Regions from separate parts of the Homo sapiens genome. Here regions 2, 3 and 4 are each linked to region 1. The links are contacts of gene promoters, found by promoter capture Hi-C in blood cells and fetal thymus (Javierre and others, 2016). All regions are on one chromosome and are shown on one strand. The core of a region is centred on a gene start or on the middle of the fragment in contact, and the rest is flanking DNA. Distances in the headings are between cores, read along the strand shown. Region 1 holds the start of SPRR4 (small proline rich protein 4). Region 2 has its middle 5.6 kb from the start of LELP1. Region 3 has its middle 21 kb from the start of SPRR2G. Region 4 holds the start of LCE1D (late cornified envelope 1D).

Region 1 (2,857 bases), core at 196-2,695:
GACACTTCTGCTGGGCTGGAATGATGGTGCCTTTCGGTGGGCATTGCTTCTTGACCTGGGGAGCACATGGATCCTTGGTTTTGGGTGCACATGTCTCTTGACATTTAACAGGGGGTGGCTGACAAGGCTGCTTCACTTGCTGCTGCTGGGCCCTCTGGGGTGGGCACTGCTGCTGCTGCCGCTGCTGCTGCTGGGAAGACATTGCTCTAGGAACAGGTGAGCCTAAAGGAAACCGGGCAGGGACACCATGAGAAGGGTGTTAAAAAGTAGCCTTTTAACACCCTTTTTAAAAAGATGGTTAAAAAGTAGCCCAGACATTTTACAAGGTCAAAGCATGCCATCTTAGCTGACAGATCTGGACAATGTCAACTGGCTCCCTTTGATAATGCAGACAATGAGAATGGGCAAGGATGTAGGGGCATGAGGAGAGGACAAAAACAGTCTCTGTCTTACAGGTAAGCATCATGGTGTGTGTGTGAGTGTGTGTGTGTGTGTGTGTGTGTGTGTGTGTGTGAGAGATCGGGCTGGAGAAGGGGTGTATAAGAATGCAGAGGCCTGATCTCTAATCCCTGCTCCACCCCTGACTCACCATGGGAGACTAAGGCAAGTCCTATGTGGCTACAGGATAGTGGTTCCAGCCCTCTACAAAGAACTGGGAAGCTTGAGGGCCAGCCAAATAGATCACTGGAGCCAAAGGATGACAGGAGGATGTTCAAAGGAAAGAGCGCTAGCCAAGAAGGCTCAGACATTGGTTCTAGGTCCATCCTGCCATTAACTTCATGGGCAACCTTCCTTCTGTGGGTCTCAGCACCCTTATTAGAAGGATGCTGGTCAGGAAGTTCCCTGAAGCCTTCCCAGCTCTGATGAGGGTCTCTGGCTATCTTTGTAGGCAGTGTTCCTTATGGTCTAAGTTAATGATTATAGATGGGAAGTGCAGGCCTCAGGAAGTAAAGAGGTGGCAATCAGAATAGGGAAGCATGAGAGCTGCATAGGATTGAATAAAATGTTCAATATACCTGTTTGCATACACCTGGAAGAAAAGTTTAAAGCTTACTGGTAAGCAAAATGCAGAATAGGGTGTGAGAAACCTTTAAACAGGGCTCGGAATTGCTACAAAATCCTGTAGCTCTAAATATCTCCTTCTTCAACAATAAAAATCTTCTTTCTGGGGAGTCAAACCCATGATCAGAAAATAAGTCATACTGAGCAATGGTGCGGAATGGAGATTAAACTTTCTAAGTACCGATTAGTGTGCCATTTCCGCAATTGTCAGAAGACTTGTGTCACTTCCCTGATTACCCAAGGATGGAAGAGGATCTTGGCCTAGCGGCTCAAAGGAGTTAAAGGAGAAGGAAAGCGCCCCACAAATCCCAGGAGAACAGATGAGTTCTCACTTACCAGAGGCGACAAGCTGGACCCCAGGAGAGGAGGCTGAGCCCTTGTCCACAGGCAGAGCCACTCCAGGAGCCTTTATAGGGCCCCCAACCTGCCCTGGGCACTTGGTGTGGTCCTGATTACCACCTCCCAGGGAATTCCTCACCCACTTCTCCCACCTGCACTTCCTTCAGGGACTTGCTTTGCTGACCTGTTTTGATGAAAGCCACCCACCATATATTTTCAGCATTCCAAGTCTCTGCACCTGAGCTGATTTAACCCACCAAAGGTGTTTGCTCAAACTCAGGGATTCAAGATCTTTTAAATATAGTACAAATTGAAGGAGCTGTTTGCAGACAGACAGTTATAAGAAATATTGAAGAAAAAAGAGGAAGAGGGAGAGGATGGGGTTTGGGGCAATTCTGACAAAAATGTGAACATCCCTTTTTCTGCAAATTGCTGCCATTTCTTGAGCACTCACTGTGAGGCTAGCACCAGGACCATCCGTCATGCTTATTATTTCATTTCATCTTCATGGCCCCTCTAGGGAAAGTGTCGTTGTTACCATTTTGCAGATGAAAAAAGTGAGGCTGAGAAAGATTAAACAGCAGAGATGGGATTTGAATTCAGATCTGGATGATTCAATGCCTAGCCCCAGGTACCACTCATCCCCCTTCCTCAATACACAGTGCAAGTGTCCTTCCTATTCCAGGGGGACAGTTCACGAAGTGTTCTGTGAGGCTTCTCTGGGGCACAGGTAGAAGATGATGTGAATGGTGCCCCAGCACACGGCGGTGCTGTCCCCATCTGCCCATTGGGAGTTGGGGTGCTGAGGAGTATTCGTGGTGGTTACAGAACATGGGATAGAATTGGCCCCTGTGGTAGACTTGCCACATAAAATACAGGACATTCAGTTAAATTTGAATCTCAGATAACAGAATATTTTAAAAGTATAAGTATATTCCAAATATTGCAGGAAACATACTCAAAAATTACTTGTAGTTCATATGAAATTCAAATTTCACTGGGCAGGCTCTATTTTTATTTGCTAAATACAGCAATCCTACTCAGGGCCTTATCTAGGTGGCAGGAAGGAGCCCTGGTCCTCCATTTAGCCTCCTAGGCCCTGGGATGGAGAAAGGCAGGGCCTCTGGGAAGCTGGTCCACCTCTAGCCCTCTACCCCAAAGATCGACCTCAGGATGCTGCCCAACAAGAGGCCATGCAAGGGCTCACCACTGCCATCACCAGAGGAAGGGGTAGGATGGCCTGAGAAATGATAGGAATACCTTAATGTACTTTCCAAAGCATTTTTCAAATCCCTCACCTCATTTAATCCTCATGACAATTTTACTGACAATTTAAAGAGGCTGGCCCAAAGAAGTTAAAGGACCTGCTCAACCACATGCAGCTGCTCAGGGTGGAGCTGGGTGGGTGCCTGGCCTGGGGCTCATTTCCACTCCATCACCGCAGTCAGCATCTCCA
Region 2 (2,857 bases), core at 188-2,687, 230 kb before region 1:
ACAGCCAGTTTTCCCTCCCTTATGGCTCATATCTGGCCCATGGGAACCAGATATACATCCTCCCCTTTCACTGTTTATCAATCACCATTGCGTAAGTTTTTCTTGATATTTGTGTATTTTTGCTCATTCATTATATAAAGGGGGAAGAATGTTCTACGAAATCCTCATGGACATGGTTCAGGGTTTATCCTATTTGACTTTACTGCAGTAATTGTTACAGTTGTGTCCTATATTTTAACCCTCTTCCCTTTTGGTCCTCTGTGACATGGGTAGACTCCCACTTACAGCCTCATCTACTCTCCTTCCCGAGCCCTTTCTCCTCTGTTGAATCCTTTCAACATCACCTGCACCTTCATTTTTCACCCTTGCTGCTGATATTATTATCCACCATTGCTGAAAGTACCAGCTCTGCATAGAGAATCCCAAAGCCCACCCTCTTCCCTGAGCTTTAGGTCCCAATACTAACATCCATTGGATGTACTTTGGTACCTCAAGCTGATTTTACAAAATCAGAGTTCAACACCTTCCACATTTTTCCTAACATGCCCCTCTTGCTCCTCTTATGCGCTCCGACTCTGTGAATAGCATCCTGTCCACCAAGACTTAACAAGAAACCTGGGATCATCCCAGACTCTTGCTTCCTACTCAACCTCACACCAAATGTGCTATCAGGATCTGCAGATTCTACCTCCTGAGCCACAGGCTTCTAAGCCAGGGTGTGTTTGGGAGCTGCAGGCACATTTCTCTCAAGTTGGTCCCCCATTCTCTCACAGCCATGGTTGCTGCCTTTATTGTGGCATCATCATCACAGGTCTCCCTGTCTCCAAAGAGTCTCACCACTAATTCAACCCCCACAGCATTGCCGAAGTGAATTTTATAAAACAAAAGCTTAATTTTACTATTGAATTTAAGATGAGGCCCAAGGCTCTTGGTTGGGTCAACAAAACTCTTACTAATCTGGTGTCTACTTTCAGCTCGGTCTTCTACTTTTACCGTAGATTCTGGGGTAAAGCTACTTGCAGTTTCCAAAATATGCTAGACTTTTTTTATTTTTTTAAACTCCGAGTTTTTGCTCTGCCAGCCGAGTCCTCCCTCTCTCCTCCTCAACCTTGAACTCATAGGAAATTCTCCTTGGGCATGATTTCTCTCACCTTCCCAGGCAGTTAGTTGCCTTAGCCAAGCTCATTCTGAAATTTTTATCCCCATATTTTGTAGTTATTTACTTCCTGATCTACTCTCTCACATGATGTAGTGTAGAGATCAGGAACCAATTACTTTTTAAAATCTCTGTTTCTGCAGTGTCCAGTGTGTGTCTTGGCACATGTTGGCCAGGCAATAGTTAATGCTTCTTGTCAATAAGGAGATGGAATAATATTTCAATGGTTTCGCAATTGCTTTTCTCTCTAACTGGAGTATCCCCCTCCTTTTTGCCTTATTGATATTTATTTTTTATCTTCTATATACAATTTGAAAATTCCACCTTCCATGTGGACTGCTCTGGACCCCCACCCTGCTGCAGTTAAGAGATACCATCTCTGAACATGCCTGATGTGCTCCCCATGGATTGACTCCCCACCTGTTCTGCCGGGGGGCAATGCTGTCTTCTGTCTCATACAGTGCCCTAATCCAGGAAAGGGCTTTCTTATTATTCTTTGCATCTTTAGTGCTGGGCCAGGGCCTGACATATAATAGATGCTCAGTGAATATTTGGGAAATAAATGAATGGATATACAAGACAAAGTTCAGCAGGGGAGATAAGAATCAAATAAACTGTCTGTCAGAGGAGGGAGATCCAACTTTATGGAGATGGAGATCTGTTTCTCAGGGTCAGCTTCCAACATGAATATATCTGTATGAGGCCCAGAGATTCCAGGAGGCAGGTACCGCTGGGCTGTGTAGGCTGAAAATCCCAGATCTTGTTGGATTTGTCCAGGATACAGCCGCCATCTGATCCAGGCTCCCAAGCAGAGATGGACTCAAGCTTCAGCGAGTGTCCATCTCCCCTTCCCTGCAGCTAGGGTTTATCTTGCCCTGCACCTCCTCTTCATCCTCCAACATACACACACACACACACACACACACACACACACACACACACACACACATTCTCTGCCTGGTGAGACCCACTTCAGGAGAACTGGGGAGGACACAGGATGGAGTGGACTTGGCAGGGAGGTAGCTGGGCCAGGCACGGTAGGGAAGGATCCTGTGGGTAAATGGGAGTCATTCTCTTGAGTGAAGCTCTACCGGACTCCTCTGTGGAGTCCACATTTTACCTGAGGGCTCCTCCTAAGGTGCCCACCAGGCTTCTGTTTCCTTTTTCCTCCTGTGACACCATCACCTTCCCAGCTACAAGCAAGGGCAATAAACTGGGGGCCCACTGGGGCAGATGTCTTAATGGAGAGAGCAGAGATGAAGAGAAAATCCCTCAGCAGGTTGAGAGTGACTTCTGCAGGCTCAGGGCACAAAGCGAGATCTCTTTGCACAGGTAAGGAAGGCAGTGAAAAGCAGAGACCCATTTCCTTCACTGAGTGTGGGATCACAAAGTCAGGAAATTTGGGGGACATTTTCAGATGATTTGAAGTAGTTCTTGTCAATTTCTTAACCAGCTTTACAAGGTCTTCATATTTTTTAATAAAGTGGGAGGCAGCACTGTGTTTCCCTAATGATCTTCTTTTGCCACAGGAGGCAGCATGGGCTGGAACAGTAGCAGTTGGAATAAGCAGCTTTATCTAATCAAACTTTAGCTAAGATGTGAAAATAACCTAAATGTCCATCAACAGATGAATGAAGAAAATGTGGTATATACACATGATAGAATACTATCCAGCCTTAAAAAGGAAAGAAATTCTGCCTT
Region 3 (2,857 bases), core at 91-2,590, 200 kb before region 1:
GAAGCACATTTCAGTCCAACCAAGGAAATAGTTTCTAAGTAAGTTCATTAATAATAAATCTGGTTGCCTCCCTTGTACAGAGCACTCTATTGTGGACAGACTTCAAGCAGAGGCTGAAAGACCATCAGGAGGTATTTTAGAGCAGATTTCCATTCAATATGTGCTTCTGATCCCATGATTCCTTTTCTTATCTGAGATTTTTTTTTCTGTTTGACTTCCCTTTAGAGCCTCCATCATTTCCCTCTATTTATTTCCCTCTCTCTGTAGGACAACCTCCATATTTATTTCCCTCTGTCTGTAGGACAACTTCACTCTTTCTTATTGTCCAAACCACAGGCTCTGAAAGAGCAGCCAGGGAGTAATCGAATATCACAAGCCTGGGGGTTCTGGAAGTGTTAGCCATGTTCTGTCCCAAGGCCTTCACTCAAATTCTCAGGTCTGTGTCCTCATTTGAAGACTGTTCTTTGTGGTTTCTGAATAGCTGGGATTTGACTTCAATTTAAGTGAAGTAAGCCCTCTTGGGGTTGTAGAAAGAACGTGAGATAGGATGTGAACATGTGGATGCTAGCTTTACTGACATTAACCAGCTGTGCTGTCTGAGTGAAGTTCCTCAGTATCTCCATGACTTTATTTCTTCATCTCTAATATTGAAGACTTGTAAGAGTTCCAAAGTTAATTCTAGAATTATATTATGTTTGTCCGCCTGTCTATTTATGCACTTAACTATCCTAATTCTTTAAAACCCCACCTTGAAAAAAGTGGTCACTGTCAGTCCAACCATACAATCTTCTTCCGGCCCAGATGAAGGCTAGCCCAAGCCCTAATGGAACTCTTCTCTCCTTTTAGGGATAATCCCAGTAGCTGTCTCTTCTTCAACTTCCTGCTTCAGAGGATTAAGGTGGCATAAAAAGTAATCTTGTACCTTTGATCCCAAGCACAGTCAAACTTTTGGAAAACAAAAGGGTTTGCCCCAGTTTTCCGTTTTTTGGGTGCCTCATTCCAGTTACTAATGTGATGTGTCTAACTCTTTTTTTGTACCGGAAACTCCAGTTTTGCAGGTATTGAGTGACTAGCAAGGTTTCCATCTCCTGAGGAAGGGTAGCCTGGGAGAAAGAGGACACAGAAGCCCTTTCCCACAGTATCTCTGGGGTCTCTGTGGGGGCAGCCAAAGGAAAGGTGCAATGAGGTGCATTGGGGGCAGGACTCTTGAGTGGGGGAAGGATGTGTGCAAGGACTGGTAGGTGGTAGGTTAGTGATAGAAGACTTGAACTTATGTTGTAATGCTACAGCAAAAGTCAACCGCATGAGACCAGACCACGTATTGTGATAGGTGCCACCAGGAAAGAACTCTGTGGAATTGATAGATAAAAAGGTTCATTAGAAAAAACTAAATGGGACAGTCTGGAGAAGTAGACCTGGTCTTCTGAGCATGAGAGTTATAATTTAAGGATAGTTTTTTCAGTCAGGGAGTGTTGATAGACCCTGGAAGGTGAGAGGTGAAGTAGAGTGGAAGCCAATTCCTGGTCCTCTCATGGGACATGGCTTGACTGTCACTTGTCTCATGTATTCAGGAGGATGCTGGATACCTGAAGCTGTAGGTCGCTCCAATTTCAATGGAGGATTAAAGTTGAGTGTAAAAGGAAATTGGTAAACCAAAGAAGAAGGTCTGAACAAGTCCTTAGTACATGGCCAAAGGACAGACGTAGATACTGATAGCTGGAGTACAGGGCTGGGGATTCGGGGGGCATGGGAGGGGAGGGCAGAAGCATTGGGCAGAGCTCAAGAGGGGAATTGTGGTCTTTGGGTAATGTTAGACATCCACTAATTTCACTGGTTGATGTGTTTGCTTTGTTGTATTATTTGGTAGGGAAAACTGTGCTTATGGAACCATACCTGGGCAAAAAAAGAGACTTCACTATCTGTGCCAGGGAGATGGGACCACCATCTGTTGGCAGCTGTGAAGTTGAGAGGTGGCTGTTCACCAGAGATGAATACACAGGGTTTCCAGTCAACTTTCAGCATTTTGGTGCATGATACCCAAGCCCTAGCCAGTGGAAAAAGTGAGCAATTATCTGCTGAAGAAATGTCCGTAGTGGTGAGTGGTGGTAGGCTGGGTGGAGGAAAAGCGGTGGCATGTGCAGTGGAGATTCAGGTACTGAAAGGGTATATGGTGTGATCACACAAGTCCGTATAACCCAAATTCTCAAATGTCAGTCTGATGAATGAATACAGGGAAGCATTCCTGGGGAGGCGAGTGGGTGTAAAGGCTCCTGTAGTCCAAGAATCTTGAATGTTTATATGCAATCCATTAGCTCAATAGTAGCTGTAATTGTTATTTACTCTCTTTTTGAGTTTTAGTGTTTGTGTGTGGTAAGACACACCTGTGTTTCAAGTAGTCCCAGGACGGCCGGGAAAAGGGTGGAGGAAGGAAGGGTGTTTACCTGCTCATATTCAGAGAAACTAATTGCCTGGGAAAATTTAGGCTAAACCAATGAAGATGAGAGAGTTTCAACATTTCAGTCATACTGGCATTTAAGGCAGGTGTGAACAAATAAACACTAGTGACAAGAACAGCCTTGCCAAGCAAAGTACTCTTCCGTGAAAAGAGGGAGGATTGACCCTCCCATGTGATGTCACTGCCAAGGCCAAAGAGGGTGGAATGAGCTGATCGTGGATCCTGGATCTTCTAGGTCTTTGAGAATTTCTGTGTCAGTTGCCCATGATACCCTGTTCTTCCTCACTTGTTGGCCACCTCTCTGAGTCACTGACCAGCCAGTGCTGATTTACTTAGGTGGATTTGTGGGGTCCTGGCCTGAATCACCATATGCAGAGGTGGCTCTCAGAGGGTGGTGGGCAG
Region 4 (2,857 bases), core at 220-2,719, 170 kb after region 1:
CTCTCAGCTATTCAGGCAGAATCAGAAGGAAGAGGAAGTCAAGGTCCACTTCAGCAGCAGCCTCCAGAGTGCTGGCTGCTGCCCCCACCGCAGCAGCTGGAGCCCCCCGAGGGCTGGCTGCAGCAGTCAGAGCTCTGGGGTCTGCGACGGTGGGACCTGTGGCGCCTGTGGTGGCTCAGGCAGCAGCCACCACCCCCAGAGCTGCAGCAGCCCCCAGAGTTGGAGCCACAGCCGCCCCCAGAGCTGGAGCCACAGCAGCCTCCGGAGCTGACACTGCAGCAGGAAGAGACTGGAGGGCACTTAGGGGGACATTTAGGGGCGGGGCACTTGGGAGTGCACTTGGGAGTGCACTTGGGAGGGGGCTGGCACTGCTGCTGGCTCTGCTGGCAGGACATCTCGGTGGTGGGTGTTCAGGAGCTGAGGGAGAGTCAAATAACAAGTCAGACCCAGGCAGAGGCCACCTCTGCCCCTGTGACACTCTTAGCACCTCTCAAGTTTAAAAGCATCATCTTCAGTAGTTTTATTTCCAATAATTTCCTCAAAATCTCACATCATCTTTTTCAAGATATCTTTGGATGTCAGACAACTGTAAACTAAGACTAAACAATATTGCAAAATGCATCTAAGATTCTGATGTGTTGTCAGTGGAGGAAGAAATTATTACAAATATATCTTAAGACTGAAATTGTCTAATTTATGAGTCATTTAAGAGAAAATTATTTTTAAAGGAGAAGAAGCAGTCATTCTCTCTGGTCATAATTTGCAAGACGATTTTACTTTGGAAGGTCAGCATTGTGCAGGATCTTGGAGACTACTAGGTCAGTAAACTCACTTCAATAGAGACAGATAAACTTAGCAGTTTCTGCAGACTAGTACTTGAACCCTGACCCCCTGATCTCAGGTTGGAGCTCAGACTTCCTCACTCACCACCTGCTCAGGCTGATGGGATGACACGGTGGGTCTCAGGCTTGGTGTGTCCTAACCAAGCTGGGAAGTTTGTGAACAAATCTCAGACCCATGAAAATGTGGGGTTCATAAACCCCAAAGAGTCTTTAGTCCCATGTCCACAGCTCCAGTTCTTCCCTTGCAGGCAGAGACAGGGTTGTATCTTCAGAGGTGGGCTTCCCTCCTGTGGGCTGCCAGAGTGGAGCAGGTCTCTGTGCTTCAAAGTTCCCACTCTGGAACACCCACCTCATCCCAGAGCAGTTTGTTTCCTCTAGAGTTCAAAGGCACATGGCACAGCCCGCCAGCTCTTTTCCTCTTTTCCTTCCTGCTCCCAGTTAGTGCCAGACCCCTTTTGGCCCCCGCCCCTTCAGTCTTTTCTAAACTCTCCACCTCTGACAACATGGCCCTAGCCCCGGAGGCCCTGCCCCTCCTTCCCTCCTGCTCTGTTCTGAGCATCCCTGCTCTGTTCTTACCGGAGTCACAGGCAGCACAGGGTTCTTTAGCACCTCAGGAGGTGAGTGGATGGGGTGGTCTGGCCCTGAGCCCTTTTATCCTGGCCTGGGCTCTGCCCCAGCTGTGAGACAGGGCCTGGGCATGAGAGGACCTTCCTTCTGACACCCACGTGGGTCTTGTGATGGTTGGTGACTGACAGCTCCTCACCTGCCTCTCTCCCCAGGCTCAAGGCAGCCACTCCCAGGTAGGAAAGTGCCTACTTGAAACGGGGTTCCAGGATGACTCCTACCATCACCTACCTCATTCACTTGAAGGCTGCTTGCCCTGAGAGCCTCTCAGTTCTCAGTCTTAGAACTTAGGACCTATCTCATTTCTGTCTCTTCCGAAGTACCTGATGCTCCGTGCAGCCTGGGTTGAAGTTGAAGTACTAATCCCTGAGGTTTCCATGCATGTTTATTTCTGTCCCTGTGCACCACCAAACTGTGTGGCTGTGGGTGCAGTGTAGACATCTACACAAGTAAAACCCTGGAAGTATAACCCGGCCCAGGACCAGGCCCTGCGAGATGGGACTGTTGAAACTATTTAGCCTGTACCATTTTTTAAACCATAAAGCTGGAAGATGAAAAAGAATTAGTTACAGAAGAATTAGTTGGTTGTGAAAGTCAATAAAGTAACACAAAAAAGAGAAAATGTGCCTGACAGAGAGACTGAAACATTGTAGGCTCTGAATAAGTGAAACATTCATAACTTGCTGAATACAGAATGAAGATACTGATCTTTGTTTAACAAACGAAGCACAGCTTTTTTCTAATGAGAGTGAGTCTGGCTGTTTGGTGATCTGTTTGCTTTTAAATAGCCCTTTTCTTCTGGTGGGGTCCTTGATGTGTCAGCACTGAGATGTGAACAAGGAAGCAGCTCATTAGAGAAACAAGAAGCAGCAGCTCTGCTCTTTGTATTGGTGTGAGAATTTGGACTTTTCTGGGTTCACACTGGGAGCACCGGATGATGGTCACAGATGAGAAACAGGAAGAAAAGAGACATGGTTGTGAGACATTATAAGTCTACGCTTCCATGTGGGGTCAAATGGCTGGCAGAACCCCGTCCTGGACCATAAGGGGACGGGTGCCTTTTAAGAACAAGAGTCCTTAATATTTAATGTGAATGTGTTTATGCTGCTACTTTGGAAGCCCCTCTCCTCTCTCTCCACTAGAATCACTAGCTTTCTACATGTCCACAGGATTTATATGAATGGAGTGTTCTGAATTTATACATTTTTAGGATATTAATGAAATGGGCTGCTGTTCATTCTAGGACACACTAGTCACTAAGACAGCCATGACTGCAAGGTTATCCACAAATTAAACTATTTCTTCAGAGGAAGACCAAGAAAAGCCAGATTAAACCATATGAGGGACAAGTCCTCTTCTTCCCAGCCCCTGACAGACTCTGGATATGCCCA

The links. Contacts are between HindIII fragments. The CHiCAGO score rates a contact against its expected background, and 5 or more counts as called.
Region 2: a fragment that was not itself captured here is called in contact with the fragment with the promoter of SPRR4 in region 1 in 3 of 17 cell types (endothelial precursors, M0 macrophages and M1 macrophages); the score reaches 6.0 in endothelial precursors.
Region 3: a contact is called between a fragment that was not itself captured here and the fragment with the promoter of SPRR4 in region 1, in 1 of 17 cell types (M0 macrophages). The highest score is 6.9, in M0 macrophages.
Region 4: the fragment with the promoter of LCE1D here is called in contact with the fragment with the promoter of SPRR4 in region 1 in 4 of 17 cell types (endothelial precursors, erythroblasts, fetal thymus and 1 more); the score reaches 10.5 in endothelial precursors.

Annotation. Positions count from the first base shown.
Region 1 is chr1:152,969,236-152,972,092 of GRCh38, reverse strand. SPRR4 (small proline rich protein 4) reads right to left here and starts at 1,445. Exons shown (of 2, transcript NM_173080.3): 1 at 1,399-1,445; 2 at 1-222. The coding sequence starts at 202. The HindIII fragment of the contact is 3,718 bases long and covers 1,052-2,857 here.
Region 2 is chr1:153,196,381-153,199,237 of GRCh38, reverse strand. It overlaps a transcript of SPRR2G not described here. Among named protein-coding and RNA genes, the nearest start is that of LELP1, 5.6 kb to the left of the region's middle. The HindIII fragment of the contact is 1,093 bases long and covers 891-1,983 here.
Region 3 is chr1:153,170,799-153,173,655 of GRCh38, reverse strand. It overlaps a transcript of SPRR2G not described here. Among named protein-coding and RNA genes, the nearest start is that of SPRR2G, 21 kb to the right of the region's middle. The HindIII fragment of the contact is 3,626 bases long and covers 1-2,857 here.
Region 4 is chr1:152,795,333-152,798,189 of GRCh38, reverse strand. It overlaps LCE1D (late cornified envelope 1D), which reads right to left and starts at 1,469. Exons shown (of 2, transcript NM_178352.3): 1 at 1,419-1,469; 2 at 9-417. The coding sequence starts at 395. The coding sequence ends at 51. The HindIII fragment of the contact is 8,213 bases long and covers 1-2,857 here.